2 separate regions of the Homo sapiens genome follow, and region 1 is linked to region 2. Evidence: promoter capture Hi-C in 16 types of primary human blood cells and fetal thymus (Javierre and others, 2016). All regions are on one chromosome and are shown on one strand. Each heading gives the region's core, a stretch centred on a gene start or on the middle of the fragment in contact. The rest is flanking DNA. Distances are from core to core; before and after follow the strand shown.

The links. Contacts are between HindIII fragments. The CHiCAGO score rates a contact against its expected background, and 5 or more counts as called.
Region 1: a fragment that was not itself captured here is called in contact with the fragment with the promoter of MATR3 in region 2 in 1 of 17 cell types (M1 macrophages); the score reaches 5.8 in M1 macrophages.

What each region holds. Positions count from the first base shown.
Region 1 is chr5:138,783,823-138,790,833 of GRCh38, forward strand. All of the region lies in intron 3 of CTNNA1 (catenin alpha 1), which reads left to right. Among named protein-coding and RNA genes, the nearest start is that of CTNNA1-AS1, 33 kb to the left of the region's middle. RefSeq lists an enhancer at 6,100-6,269. The HindIII fragment of the contact is 4,115 bases long and covers 809-4,923 here.
Region 2 is chr5:139,292,308-139,299,267 of GRCh38, forward strand. MATR3 (matrin 3) reads left to right here and starts at 1,433. Exons shown (of 15, transcript NM_018834.6): 1 at 1,433-1,498. LOC124901081 (a long non-coding RNA gene) reads right to left here and starts at 1,250. Exons shown (of 4, transcript XR_007058956.1): 1 at 967-1,250. RefSeq lists enhancers at 1,505-2,208, 2,209-2,911. The HindIII fragment of the contact is 8,607 bases long and covers 1-5,480 here.

The sequences.
Region 1 (7,011 bases), core at 1,616-4,115, 510 kb before region 2:
GAAAATACTCTAGAAATTGTCCTATTGTGTCAGAATAGTATGTTAAATCAGCCATGCATATTTGAACTGGTTGGAGCTTGACATAAATCTGGGTATAAAGGAATCATGTTTTGGGAAATTCAGAATTGATAAAAAGTAAAATGGTAATCCACAGTTTACTAATAATTAATGCTAGAAAAATTGTCCTTATTATGTTACAAATGTGGAAGGAAGACTTTAAATACGGAAGATAAACTTCTTGAAACCTGCAGTTTTTATTTTTAGTAGAGATGGGGTTTCACTAGTTGCCCAGGCTGGTCTCAAACTCCCAAGCTCAAACAATCCGCCTGCCTCGGCCTGCCAGAGTGCTGGGATTGCAGGCATGAGCCACAGTGCCCGGCCTTGAAACCTGTAGTTGTGTGTTAGGTTTCTTTTCCAGTCGGAGAATTTCAACAATGATGTAGGTTTTTTAGGTTATTGGATATCAGCTAAGGTAAATCGAGCCCTGCTATTTACAGGTGCTTTACTAACCCTTGGGAGAACTTCATAGATCTTTCGTGCCTGATGGTAGATTGCATAGTCCAGAGTCTTATGTCAAATTCATCCCTGTGGCAGTACCCATAAATGGGCAGTGCCTTAGATGGAGATAACATCTCCAATTGTTTTCTGAATTTGTGAACAAATAACCTTCAATGGTAAATATTTTTTCAGTTTTCAGGCTGAAGATAAATATTTCTAATACTGAAAATGATGAAATTATTAGAATTCCACAGTACTAATTAGGCAGGTATATTAGTTTCCTAGGGCTTCTATAACATAAATTATTACAAGCTTGGTGGCTTAGAATAATAGAAATTTATTCTCTCATCATTCTGAAGGCCAGAAATCTGAAATCAAGGTGTTGGCAGGCTTGATTCCTTGTTGGGACTTAGGAAGAATCTGTGGATGCCTCTTTCCTAGCTTCTGGTGGTTGCCAGCAATTCTTAGCATTCCTTGGCTTGCAGACATGTTACTCCAGTCTCTGCCTTTGTTATCATATACTTTTCTTTTTTTGTGTCTCTGTGTCCAAGTTTCCCTCTTCTTATAAGGACATCAACCATTGAATTAGGGCCCACCTTAATCCAGTATAACCTCATCGTAACTTGATATCATCTGCAAAGACCCTGTTTCCAAATAAAGTTGCATTCACAGGTTCCAGGTGGACATGAATTTTTGGGCAATGCTATTCAACCCAGTACAGTGAGTTTTGAATTAATTAATTAATTTTTTTTTTTTTTTGAGACGGAGTCTCGCTCTGTCGCCCAGGCTGGAGTGCAGTGGCGGGATCTCGGCTCACTTCAAGCTCCGCCTCCCGGGTTCACGCCATTCTCCTGCCTCAGCCTCCCAAGTAGCTGGGACTACAGGCGCCCGCCACTACGCCCGGCTAATTTTTTGTATTTTTAGTAGAGACGGGGTTTCACTGTTTTAGCCGGGATGGTCTCGATCTCCTGACCTCGTGATCCGCCCGCCTCGGCCTCCCAAAGTGCTGGGATTACAGGCGTGAGCCATCGCGCCCGGCCTAATTTATTTTAAAGTAGTTTAATGGTCCAGTTCAGGACAGTTTTTGAGCTTGCTGTTGAGGAAATCAGGCTATTACTTAATTGTATTCTGTGGTACATTCTCCTCCCCAGCCCTTCTTGTCTTCTATAACGAAACTCACAATCATATTAACAGATGAGTTTGGGCAGTGTTTGCTGGCTCTAGTGACTGACGTTTCTTTTCTTTTCTTTCTTTTTTTGAGTTGGAGTCTTGCTCTGTCTCCCAGGCTGGGATGCAGTGGTGCGATCTTGGCTCACCGCAACCTCCACCTCCTGGGTTCAAGCGATTCTTCTGCCTCAGCTTCCCAAGTAGCTGGGATTACAGGCATATGCCACCACACCCAGCTAATTTTTGTATTTTTAGTATAGTATAGTGTAGTGTAGTGTAGTGTAGTATAGTATAGTATAGTATTGCCTTGTTGGCAGGCTCGTCTCGAACTCCTGACCTCAAGTGATCTGCTCGCCTTGGCCTCCCGAAGTGCTGGGATTACAGGCATGAGCCAGTGCGCCTGGCCACATTTATTTTTAAAATGCATTTAATTGTTGTAGGTAATTTTAATTTGACTTTATATGTTTCTTATTTCAGAAGTTTCTCCAGTGCAAATATGTAGCAATCATGGTATAATATACATTCCCTGCTCCCCAAACCCCCCACAATTTTGAATGCATATCTGAATTGCTTTTGTTATTTTTGTTTGTATATGATAATCTTTTATGTGGTTCTGAATCATAAGGACTTTTCTGTCCTAGTCCACTTTTGCAATTATTTATTATCATGACCTGTCCACCATAATTTGCCTTCTCTTTGGAAAAAAAGAGCCAAAACCAAAATATAACTTCCTCCCATCATCATTATTGCATCAGATATGAAAAGCTGAAATGCCTTACTTTTTTCTCTTGGCTTACTTTTTTCTTTGGAGAATCTTAACAAATGGTGATAAGATCTCTTTTCTATCATAAATAGAACAAAATACATATTACAAAAATATGAAGCACAGATTGCTTAATCAACTGAGACTTGTTGGCTATGTCGTTGAAGCCATTTACTCATCGTTTGAAACCCTGTAGTGGTGTTAATAGGTCTGCAGATTCTTTGGACACCCCTCCCTTAAAAAAAAATAGAGCCTAACCCTTGAACATGGGTTGAACTTAGTGATTCCTACAATGACTAGAATGTGGTAGAAGTGGTGCTATTTACTTTGGGAGCAAAGTTATAAAAATGGGGCCGTATCCACTCCACTTTTTCTCATGGATTATTCTGTCTGGGGGAAGCTGGCTGCTATGTCTTGAGTGCACTCAGGAGGTCCTGTGGAGAAGAACTGAAGTCTCCAACCATCAGTCAGCACACATTTGTCAAGCATGTGAGTGAACCACCTAGGAAGCAGATCCTCCACCTCCAGTCAAGTTTCAGACAACATCAGTCCTGACCAACCCCAAATCCCTGACCCATAGAAAACTCTGGGAGTTAATAATTGTTTTAAGCTGCCACCTCTTGGAATTTCTTAGGCAGCAAAAGAAAATTTATACAAACACTTTTCCCTGCCCTGGCTTCAGTGGTCCTGAGCATTTACGTAAAACCCTGACCTAACTTTTCTGAATTTTTCTGATAAATAAAAATATGCCATCCACTGAAACACTTAATTTTTAAAGGATTTTTAAGATGTCTTTGTTCTGAATCACTGTTGACGTTGTTTAGGATGGGGGTTGGTAAATTTCTTCTAGAAGGCCAGGTAATAAGTATTTTTGGCTTTTCTGATCATAAGGGCTCTGGGCTGGGTGCGATGGCTCACGCCTGTAATCCCAGCACTTTGGGAGGCCCAGTTGGGCGGATCACGAGGTCAGGAGATGAAAACTATCCTGGCTAACACGGTGAAACCCCGTCTCTACTAAAAATACAAAAAATTAGCCGGGCGTGTTGGTGGGCACCTGTATACCCAGCTGAGGCAGGAGAATGGCGTGAACCTGGGAGGCGGAGCTGGCAGTGAGCCGAGACCGTGCCACTGCACTCCAGCCTGGGTGACAGAGCGAGACTCCGTCTCCAAAAAAAAAAAAGGTCTCTGTTGAAACTATTAATATTCAGCTCTGCTGTTGATTTGGGAAGCAGCTATAGACAAGATATAAAGAAATGGTCATGGGGGATGGCTGTGTTCTAATAACATTTAGAAAAATTACAGGCTATAGTTTGCTAACCCTGATATAGGGTTTTCCCAGGCTGTTAAAGATATGAGCTTACTGTCTTCAAAAAGGTAGTTATTTATGTGTTTATTTATTATACTTTTGAGCCAAAAATTAGACCTTCTGTATCTTTGGGTTTGTACATGTCCATTGCTTCCCGTGCAATCATAATAACCAAAAGTTGGAATGTACACAGTTTTTGATGTGTAACTTTCTTTTTGTGTTAGACCCTGATTACATAAATAATGAATATGCACATTTGTGAGTATACTAAAATTTCACCATAATGCTGTAAGTGATGTTAAAAAAATTCACGTACATAAAAACAGGATCATTTGACTTCAAGGCTAATGAAATGGTCAGGTGAGCCACATGTGGTGGATAGGAGCCAGTCACCAATTGCATGGCTTCCAAATCTCTGTGATCTAAGAGTTTAATTGTACTACTAATCTGCTTCGTTTTTGAGTAGCTACCTTATATAGGCAGAGGTGTACATATGCCTCTTAGATGTGCTCTTTTCTTATTTTAGGATCCTGTTTACCTCCCGTATCCCCCCATCCTTATCAGATCAATCTTACCTTTGTTCTTTTTTGTCTTAGCGCTTATCACAGTGGTAATTTAAGTTGGTTGCCTTTTCCTCTCTACGCTCCAGCAGTGCAGGTTCTGTGCTGGTCTGGTGACCATTCTGTTTGTATCTATGATAGTACCTGGTCCGTGATAGGCACTTAAATGTTTGAGTAAGATAATTGATTATTCTCCGAGAAGTACAGTAAGAGAAAATGCTTTTTTCTCGAAATTTAAAGTGTGTTTTCCTTTCCAGTGCCAAATGTAAATGCATGGGTAGGGGTGGAGAATCTTATGTTTTTTTTAAAAAATTGAGATATAATTTCACATACCATAAAAATCACCCATTTAAAGTATACAATGCAGTGTTTTTTAGGGTATTCAGAGTTGTACAGCTATCACCATGATCTAATTCCAGGACATTTTTATCATCCCCCAAAAGAAACCTCATACTCATTAGCAGACATTCCCCATACATGTACATTTTAACAGTAGATAAAGAGTAGCAGCTGCCTTGTGGTACATAAATGTATTTTATGAATCCTTGAATAGGGCTCTGACCAGAAAAAGAAGCCTCTTAAGCCGGATAGGGGACTTTCAGGGGACAGAGATGAGAAGACCTAAATGAAGCTTTTTTGAAAAAGGAGAGATATTATGAACAGAGGCCCATTAATGTTAAATTTGAAGTGGAGTGATGAGGAACAGCTTCTTACTAGAACAGTGTTTTATAATCCATTAGCCACAATTTATACTTGGATCTCAAAGGCCAGGATCAGTATTATTGCTACTTCTGTAGCTTCTTCCCTATAGCTCATGGGCATTTCTGGGTCAGTGAAGGGGGAGAAGACCCAAAGAAACTGAAATCCACCTTTTTGTATTCCTGCACTGCTTCTAATCATATTTGCTCAGTAAAGGGGCCAAATAGATTATTCGTGCACTGAGCAACAGTAGATTTCCTAGGAAGAAGCTTGTGTCAGGGAAATATGAGTGAGGAATGGGCTGGTTGATAGTGTGTGGTCCCTGAGGGGGAGATGGTATTCTAGCACATAGGAGGCTGTTTTTCCTGTTTTTCCCCCCCCCCAGAGCTTATAATGATACATGAATACGAAAAATAATTAATAGCATGAGTGGCAGAGGAATGGGAGGATAAGCATGGGATTGGGAAAGTTAACTAAAGGTATTTGAGCTTGCACTGGATCTTGAAAGGTAGAAAAAGGGAGCAGGAGGAAACTCATCCAGGTAAGAAAAATAGACTGTGCAAGATGGGCATGAGAAACAGTGAGGTCCCTGGCTGGAGGTGGGTGCTAGTCATGTTGAGCACTGCTGGCAGGAGAGGTTTTTGTTTTGTTTTGTTTTTTGAGTTGGAGTCTTGCTCTGTCGTCCAGGCCGGAATGCAGTGGTGGTATCTTGGCTCGCTGCAACCTTCGCCTCCTGGGTTCAAGCAATTCTCCTGCCTCAGCCTCCTGAGTAGCTGGGACTACAGGCATGTGCCACCACACCTGGCTAATTTTTGTATTTTTAGTAGAGGTGGGGTTTTACCATATTGGCCAGGCTGGTCTCAAACTCCTGACCTCGTGATTCACCCACCTCGGCCTCCTAAAGTGTTAGGATTACAGGCGTGAGCCACCGCACCCGGCTGCAGGAGAGGTTTAATATAGTTTGGAGCATATTTAGAGGGTGGCTTGGAATGCCATGTGGCATTACATGGTTCAGGTCCCATATGCTTGAATGTATCAAGTGACACAGGACTCACTCACTACCTCAAGGGGGAGCTCTTTCCAGTATTGGTTTGTGTTTATTTTAAAAGCTTTTTTTTCCCCTTAGAAACTGAAATTTGTCTCTTGAATTTTCTTCCTGTTTTAAGAAGTTCCACCATCTGGGCAATACAGAATATGAGGAAAAGTGGAGTTTTTGCAGGGAGATTAGTGTTAGCTGTGTGCAGGAAGGGTTAAAGTGACTGGTAGACAGCCCAGAGGTAGGACCTAGAGTCTGGAGATGACCATAGTAGTGGGGAGTGAAATGGAGCTGTGCAGGAAGGGACTGCTATAACAGAATTGATGGAAAGAGAGAATTGGCCAGTTGTCATGCATGTTAACTGCCAGCAGGGCCTGTGCAAGTAGCTGATCTTTTCAGTAGGTAAAACTAAGGGACCTGGTATGTGAAAAGTTGTAGTAATTTATTTTCCTGTGACTTGAGGCATTTAGGGTGGTGTTGAGGCAGCATGTGCTGCTAAGAACCTGTGTTCTTACAGGTGTAAAATGCTGCCTTTTAAAATGTTTGCATTATTTGCTTGTAATGGATGTCAAACCTTATTTTGTGTTCATTAATCACACGTATTAATGTTTATTAATACATCTGAAACATGTTATTTGTGTGAGTTCCTATGGCAATGATAAGTATTGGTAAACATTAGTGCTCCTTTCTCTGTTGATTTGTTGAAGCCCTGTTATTTTTCTTTTTAATTGGAATTCCACCAAGTTTTCAAAAATTGAGACATGGCTCATTGGGCTGGAGATGCTGATCTTTTAGATTTCTCTTTACTAATCTAATGGCATAGCAGAGGTTAAATTACCTTGGAGTAGAAAATCAAGAAATGATTGTGTGTGTCTGCAATTTTGGTTTTAATGGTAGGACAAGATTATGGTAGTCTGGGAAAAGGTGATTGAGTGCTGCTGAACAGAGCAAGGATTGATTGTAGCTAAGTCTAGTGACTTAC
Region 2 (6,960 bases), core at 183-2,682:
TCCCACAGTAGCCGCCTCTCAAGGTTATTGTAGGGTTATGTGTAAACTGCTTATTGCATTGCCCACCTTATAGAAAGCACTCCATATTATAATCATTAACTGTGCTGGAAAATTCCCAACTCTCCAGATGCGGAGTTCTGCAAGGATGGTTGGGGAGAGAGTTGCAGCCAGATTAGGTCTCCAAACAATTTACTTAAGCCTCTGAAGGCCGGAGCTCAAATCCCTCCAACCCGGGTACCTAACCAGTACCTCAGTCCCAAGAGTGTATTGCATTCAGTCAAATTCACCAAAAGGCGGCGGTGGTCTTTAGGAAGGAAAAGGCTCGCGGTCCTCCGCCTCAACGACCCTCCTGCACAGAATTCCTGATTTTAAAAACCAGCTGGCCACTTTGGGAGGCCGAGGCGGGCGGATCACAAGGTCAGGAGATCGAGAGCATCCTGGCTAACACGGTGAAACCCCCGCCTCTATTAAAAATGCAAAAAGAAATTAGCCAGGCGTCGTGGCGGGCGCCTGTAGTCCCAGCTACTCCGGAGGCTGAGGCAGGAGAATGGCGTGAACCCGGGAGGCGGAGTTTGCAGTGAGCCGAGATCGCGCCACTGCACTCCAGCCTGGGTGACAGAGTGAGACTCCGTCTCAAAACAAAAAACAAAACAAAAAAAACAGCTGGCTGGGCGTGTAGGCTCACGCCCTTAATCCAATGCTGAGAGGCGGAGGCGGGAGCACTGCTTGAGCCAAGGAGTTCCAGACCAGCCTAGGCAAAATAACGAGACACCATCTCTACGGAAAAAATAAAAATAAAAAAGTTAGCTGGCCATGGTGGTGCGAGCCTGTAGTCCCAGCTACTGGGGAGGCTGAGGTGGGAGGATCCCTTGAGGATAGGAGTTCGAGGCTGCAATGAGCCATGATAACGCCAGCGCACTCCAACCTGAGCAACACAGTTTATTTATGATAAATAAATAAACATACCTAAATAAAAACCAGCCAAAATGGTATCGTTTTCCCTTTGTGGCCCCAATATCTGGCGCTTTCCACCATTCCTTGGCAAACAGAACAACCAGAGAGCATAAAAGTCGAGTCTAAGCCAGGGACTCTCGCGAATCCCTTCTAAGGCATACCCTATTTAAACTTTGTATTATGCTATTCAGGAGGTTGACAAACAGCCTTTTCGGGAATGGGACTCGAACTCGTAAGCCACGTCTGTTCCTCCATTTCCCGCCTCAGCTGGATGACGGAGAGGGATCTCCGGGATTAAAGAACAACGACCGCAGGCGAGTGCACGAGCGAGGTGCGCGCGCTGAGTAGGGGGAGGGGCCTGGCGCGCGCCGAACCAGATCGAGGGGGTGGGGGCGAGCTCTCTCGCGAGAGTGGGTTTGTTCTTGGGCTGCAGCCGCTGCCGCCGCTTCTCGCCAGCGCCGTTGCTGCGGGGGATTGTGGGAGTCTCCGCGTCCCGCTCGCTGGGAGAGAGGTACCTCTCCTTTTCCCTCTCCCTTTCCCTAAGGTAGGCGTGAAGCGGGTAAGAGTCGGGGTCGGGTGGCTGGGGGTTCTCCGTGTCCGCCGGGAGGGGACAACGACGGCGACAGGGGCTGCGGGGAGCCGGCGGCGCGCCTTTCTTGCTCGCTCCCGCTCTGCCTCCCTCCGCGTTGCGTATGTGAGCCGCCTGATCGGCGGCCGCCATGTTAGGAGCGCAGTGGCGGCGCAACCAGCCTTCTAGGGCGGCGGAGGTGAGCGGTCCGGGAGGGAAACACGCGGCCGGCCAAGGGCCCAGGGTGCGGCGGGAGATTTTGGGTGAAGAGGTGCGCTGACCGGCCGAGCTTCCTGCGCGTCCTGGGCTCGTTGTGGGCGGGGGCGGGACGACTAGCCCGTTACACGCGGGCCGCGGCGCTGAGGGGGAGGGAGGAGCTCGCTCGAGGCCTGAGGGACAGACTGTACACTGGGGGCTTGCCGTTTGAGGAGGATGGTTAAGATATCTAAGTCCTTGGGTAGCGCCAGTGCCAAATAACCCGTTCGCCTTTTTTTCTCTGAAAATGTTCCCCCAAAATGGAGGATTTCGCAGACTCTGAAGAGCCTGCTTGTTTGAGCAGCGTTTCTTTCTTTTCCCGGTGTCTCGGCCTTCACGCCGCTCCTTGCCCATCGCCTCAGAGCGCCCCCTAAGACTCCCGGCCCACACGCGCGCGCGCGCGCGGCGTTAGCTGGACATCAGAAACAATTCCTCCCCGCCCCCCATCGCGTAAAAATGGCCGAAAAATGAAACGTTAACGCTTGTTTTTCGTACTGCGTCGTGGAACAAGCCGCCTGCAGTACAGTGCGAGGCGGGTGATTTGCACTTGTTTAGTCAAGTCACCTCACATCCTTTTTCTCTTTATCAAAATAGTATTAGTCCAGGTTCCTCCAGAGAGGATCGTGTGGTGTGGGACCTTCCGGTTTCCAGACAAAGGGTTTTGGAGTACCGTGGTGTAGTCGCCGCATCGTTCTTTGCATTTCGAGCTCTGTGCCATGTTCTGTGTTCGGCATTTACCGTGGATGAATATCCCCTAGGTGTTTATCCTGCTCTGTGGCCCTGTTCTGTGGAATATTCCTATTGGATCAGTTACAGTTTTTTAGCCAGATATTTCTAGAACGGTTATGGTGGTTCTGAAATGGCTAGTCTTTCGGGCGCGCTGGAATAATGTGAAGAATCGTTGATTTCGTAGGTAGGGGTCACGAGATTTTGTATTGGTACTGCGTTCTGTGTTTTAAACCTTGGCTTAAGATTTCTGAATAGTCGGTAAAATACATTTTTCTCCCAGGGAAATCTAAACAGTTGACTATGCGGACAAAAATGATGTTTCAGGCTATTTTAATAAATGTTTAAAATTTCCCTTTAAAAACATTTCTTTACTAATGGCTCAGTCATCTACGCAGTCTATCGACGTTTTTCACAGTATTGTTTTAAAAATCAAGAAAGGCTTGACATTTTCGTTGCAAAAACGCTCTGGATGATGCCTTTTCCACTTAAATAGAATGTTTTTGCAAACTCGAAATTAAACAACATTAAAATACTGCATGAAGTTTCTTGGTTATGTAAGATTTGGAAAAGATCATTTAGCCAGATGTGTGTTGAAGTGCTTTAAATTTGTATTTCTTCCTTTGCACTTAACAGTATATACTTAGAACATTACTTTGTACTTTACCCAGAGAAGTTTCGCTTTATCATCTTTATATATTTTTCAGCCGTGTACAGCTTTTATATCACATTTTGAACTAACTTGGAAGGATTTAACTACCCTTGATCTGTGCATTTGTTTTAGTCTTTAAACATACTAATTTTTTTACTAATGCTTTTAGAGTTTGTAAACGCTAATATTACAAGTCAGTTAATGGTTTTTACTGAGGAGTGCAACGGTGGTGTCGTATTTTAGGAGCATCACGTAGTTCAAATCCCTAATTTTATAGAAGAGAAGGTTAAAGCCCAGATAGGTCGTGACCAGTTGCAAATAGTAGCAGTGCTGTCAGTGTGGTCTACAGAGGTCTTGGATCTTTTTTTTCTCTGAAACAGGATCGCTCTGTTGCCCAGACTGGAGTGCAGTGGTATGATCAGTGGCTCACGGCTCACAGCAGCCTCGACCTCCCAGGCTTAAGTAATCCTCCCACCTCAGCCTCCTGGGTAGCTGAGATCACAGGCGCGCGCCACCACACCAAGCTAATTTTTTGATCGTCTGTAGAGACGTGTTCTCACAATATGGCCCAGGCTGGTGTTGAACTCTCGGAGCTCTTAGATGTTGATTCAGACTCCTTCATAGTATAATAGGCTTAAAATGGAAAGACTGTGCGTACAGGAATTTATCCTAAGGAAGTAATGTGTCAGATTTGCGTATATAAATTTAATATCAGTTATTAAGAATTTTTTTTAAAATTAAATATTCAAGTTTTGGGAATCTGCTAATTCTGTTGTGAAAGTGGAAATCTATACAGCCACTTAAAACAGTATCGTAGGTGAAGAGTATGATGGGAAAATGGTAACGGTATACAGTTTTAACTGGAAAGGAAAATGTTGGAAAACTGCTAATGTCGTTTGATTGTTTTTTAAACGACAATGTAAACATGAAAATAGAGATATACCCCAAAATGTTTGCTCAGATGTTGGCATTGTTTACTCCCTGATGTTTTTCTGAATTTACCACGAGAAATAACATCAACTTTTGTAATGAGAGAAAAAAATGAAAAACATATTTTGTAAATACTGTAACTGCTTAAAATATTAGAGTCCTCTGTATTTTTAAGCGAAATTGGCATAGACAAACTAGCTGCTTCAAGTCTGAAGTGAAAAGTACTGAGAAGTGACAGAAAGTAGTGCTTGTGTAACATTTTGGATATTGGGTATAAGCAAACACAGGAATCAGAATATTCTTAGGCAAAAATGTTAAAATCATTATTATTGGAAATAGTACTAATTAGCTTACAATATGAATTGCAGCCAAAGAATTGAATAATGGTTAGATGTTCTTAGAACATCTTTTTGTTAGGGATACTTGATTTTATATATCTCCTTTAGTTAGAATTACAGTACAGCTATCCCACACTTCTGGCAACAGGTTCTAAAAGTGGATGATTGCGGCCAGTGGCCCGTGATCCCAGCACATTAGGAGGCCAAGGCGGGCGGATCATCTGAGGTAAAGAGTTCTGAGACCAGCTTGCCCAACATGGCGAAACCCCATTTCTACTAAAAATTACAAAAATTAGCCGGGCGTGGTGGCAGGCACCTGTAATGTAATCCCAGCTACTTGGGAGGGTGAGGGAGGAGAAATCACTTGAACCCAGGAGGCGGAGGTAGCAGTTAGCCGAGGTGGCGCCACTGCATTCCAGCCTGGGCAACAGAGCGGGACTCCATCTCAAAAAAAAGTAAAGTGGATGATTGACTTAACATTTGGGATGGACAGTGCTAAGTTTGTTGGGATGGATTGGAAGGGTTATAGGCTGGGAGTGTAGTTTTGCCATTTTCTGTATATGTGGTTGGTTATTCTAAGGCACAACGCTGTCCAAGAAATAAAGTGCTGTAATTTATAATTATTAGCTATGTAGCAAACCTTTCTCATTGGATCATTAGGATTAAGGGCTCTGAAGTTCTTGATAAAAGTTTATGTGTAGAAAATTTAATGGATAATTAAAAGTAAAACAGAAAACAAGCCTATGGGTTGAGTTTTAGATATGTACCTTTAAAGGGGTTTTATGTGTAATTTAAAAAATTGAGTATAAGTGTTAGGTTTTAACGCATTTCTATTATAATCCTATTTGTAATACAGTAAAAGTTACATGATAAAGTGCTGTTATCTGACCTAACCTGAATATAATTTATTACTGTGGCACTTCTGTGTGGATGGAGTGCGGAGTGCCTTTGATGTGATGTATAATTTTCCAGTTGTACATCAAGCCCTAATGTTCTCTGTATAGATAAAGCTCAAGGCTCTTTGGAAGTGGAAAATAAAAAGTGAAGTAGTAATGAAAGCTTAGGTTTGAAAAAATTTTAAAGCTATTCCAAAATTTAAAGTATGCTTGCTCCCCACCCACCAAACCTTAAAAACATCTTATCTGACATTCTCTTTAATGTGGTTCAGGCAGAAACAGGTTAGTAGGAAAACAAGAGGGGAGCTTGCCTGTGGAGAAGGAGAGAGTAGTTGCAGATGGGTAAGAAAAGTAAAAGCAGAGTGCCTATGGTAAATGTCTTAGTGGGCCAGCAGTAAATGCAGCAAGTATGGAAAGTAGTCATTTAATTAATATTAGGGAGCAGTATTATCTGCATTTACTTCATGAAGATGCATAACTTTCAGATCTTTTAGGATGATGTGTTTGGTTTTTTTCCTCCTTTGTGAGGATTATTAGGATATTAACCGTCCCTCTTAACACACGGGAACCTATACCATATGTGAAAATTAAAAGTCAATTATTTGAGCACTCAACTTAAGCAGTAGTTGGGGAAAGAATAATGTCAAAGAAATACAAACATTTGGCTGGGTGCAGTGATTCACACCTGTAATCCCAGCACTTTGGGGGCTGAGGTGGGCAGATCACTTCAGGCCAGGAGTTCGAGACCAACCTGGGCAACATACGGAAAACCCCGTCTCTACTAAAAATACAAAAATTAGCGGGTCGTGATGGCGCGTTCCTGTAATTCCAGCTGTTGGAGACGCTGAAGCAGAATTGCTTGAACCTGGGAGGCGGAAGTTGCAGTGAGGCGAGATCGTGCCACTGCACTCCAAGGCTGGTGACAGAGCAAGACTGTCTCAAAAAGAAAAGAAACACAAATATTTGAACTCCAAATATTCTTTGTGTGTAGAAAAATCTAATGGATAATTAAAACTAGAGCAGAGAGAAAAGCCTAGGAGTTGAGAGATTTTTAGATACGTGACTGAAAAGATTGGAAAAGGCTATCAGTTTTAATGCTTGTGTCTGTCTTTGTGTGGGCCATGGTATTTTGGAAGAGCACCATGGAGGAGGAAGTTTTGCAGTTTTGCACCAAGGGACACCAAGAAACAGCGTTGTTCTTGGTAATGGCAAGAAATTGAAAACAACTTAAATGTTCATCATCTGCAGAATAAAGTACATGTGCATACATAATGATACCTATATTGCAGTGAAAATGTAGGTTTAACTCACAATTGTGGATAAATCAGTTTTTAAAAGCAAGTCAGAACAGTACATTTTAAGTCAATTTGCATGAAGTTCAGAAATGCAAAAATAACACTTTTTAAGGGTACATACATTAAGTAGTCAAACTTAAACACAAGGGGAGGGAGTCGTTGGAAATTGCTATGTAGATTTATTTCCAAAGTCTCGTTAATGTTTTGTTTCGTATTTTTATATACACTGGTTTGTATAATACATTGAATGATTAAAAGGGGATGCTGGGCCTTGAGAAAATAACTGGTATTACATGAAATGACAGAGGGATGCCTCCCAGCTAATAATTTTATTTACACAAGCATT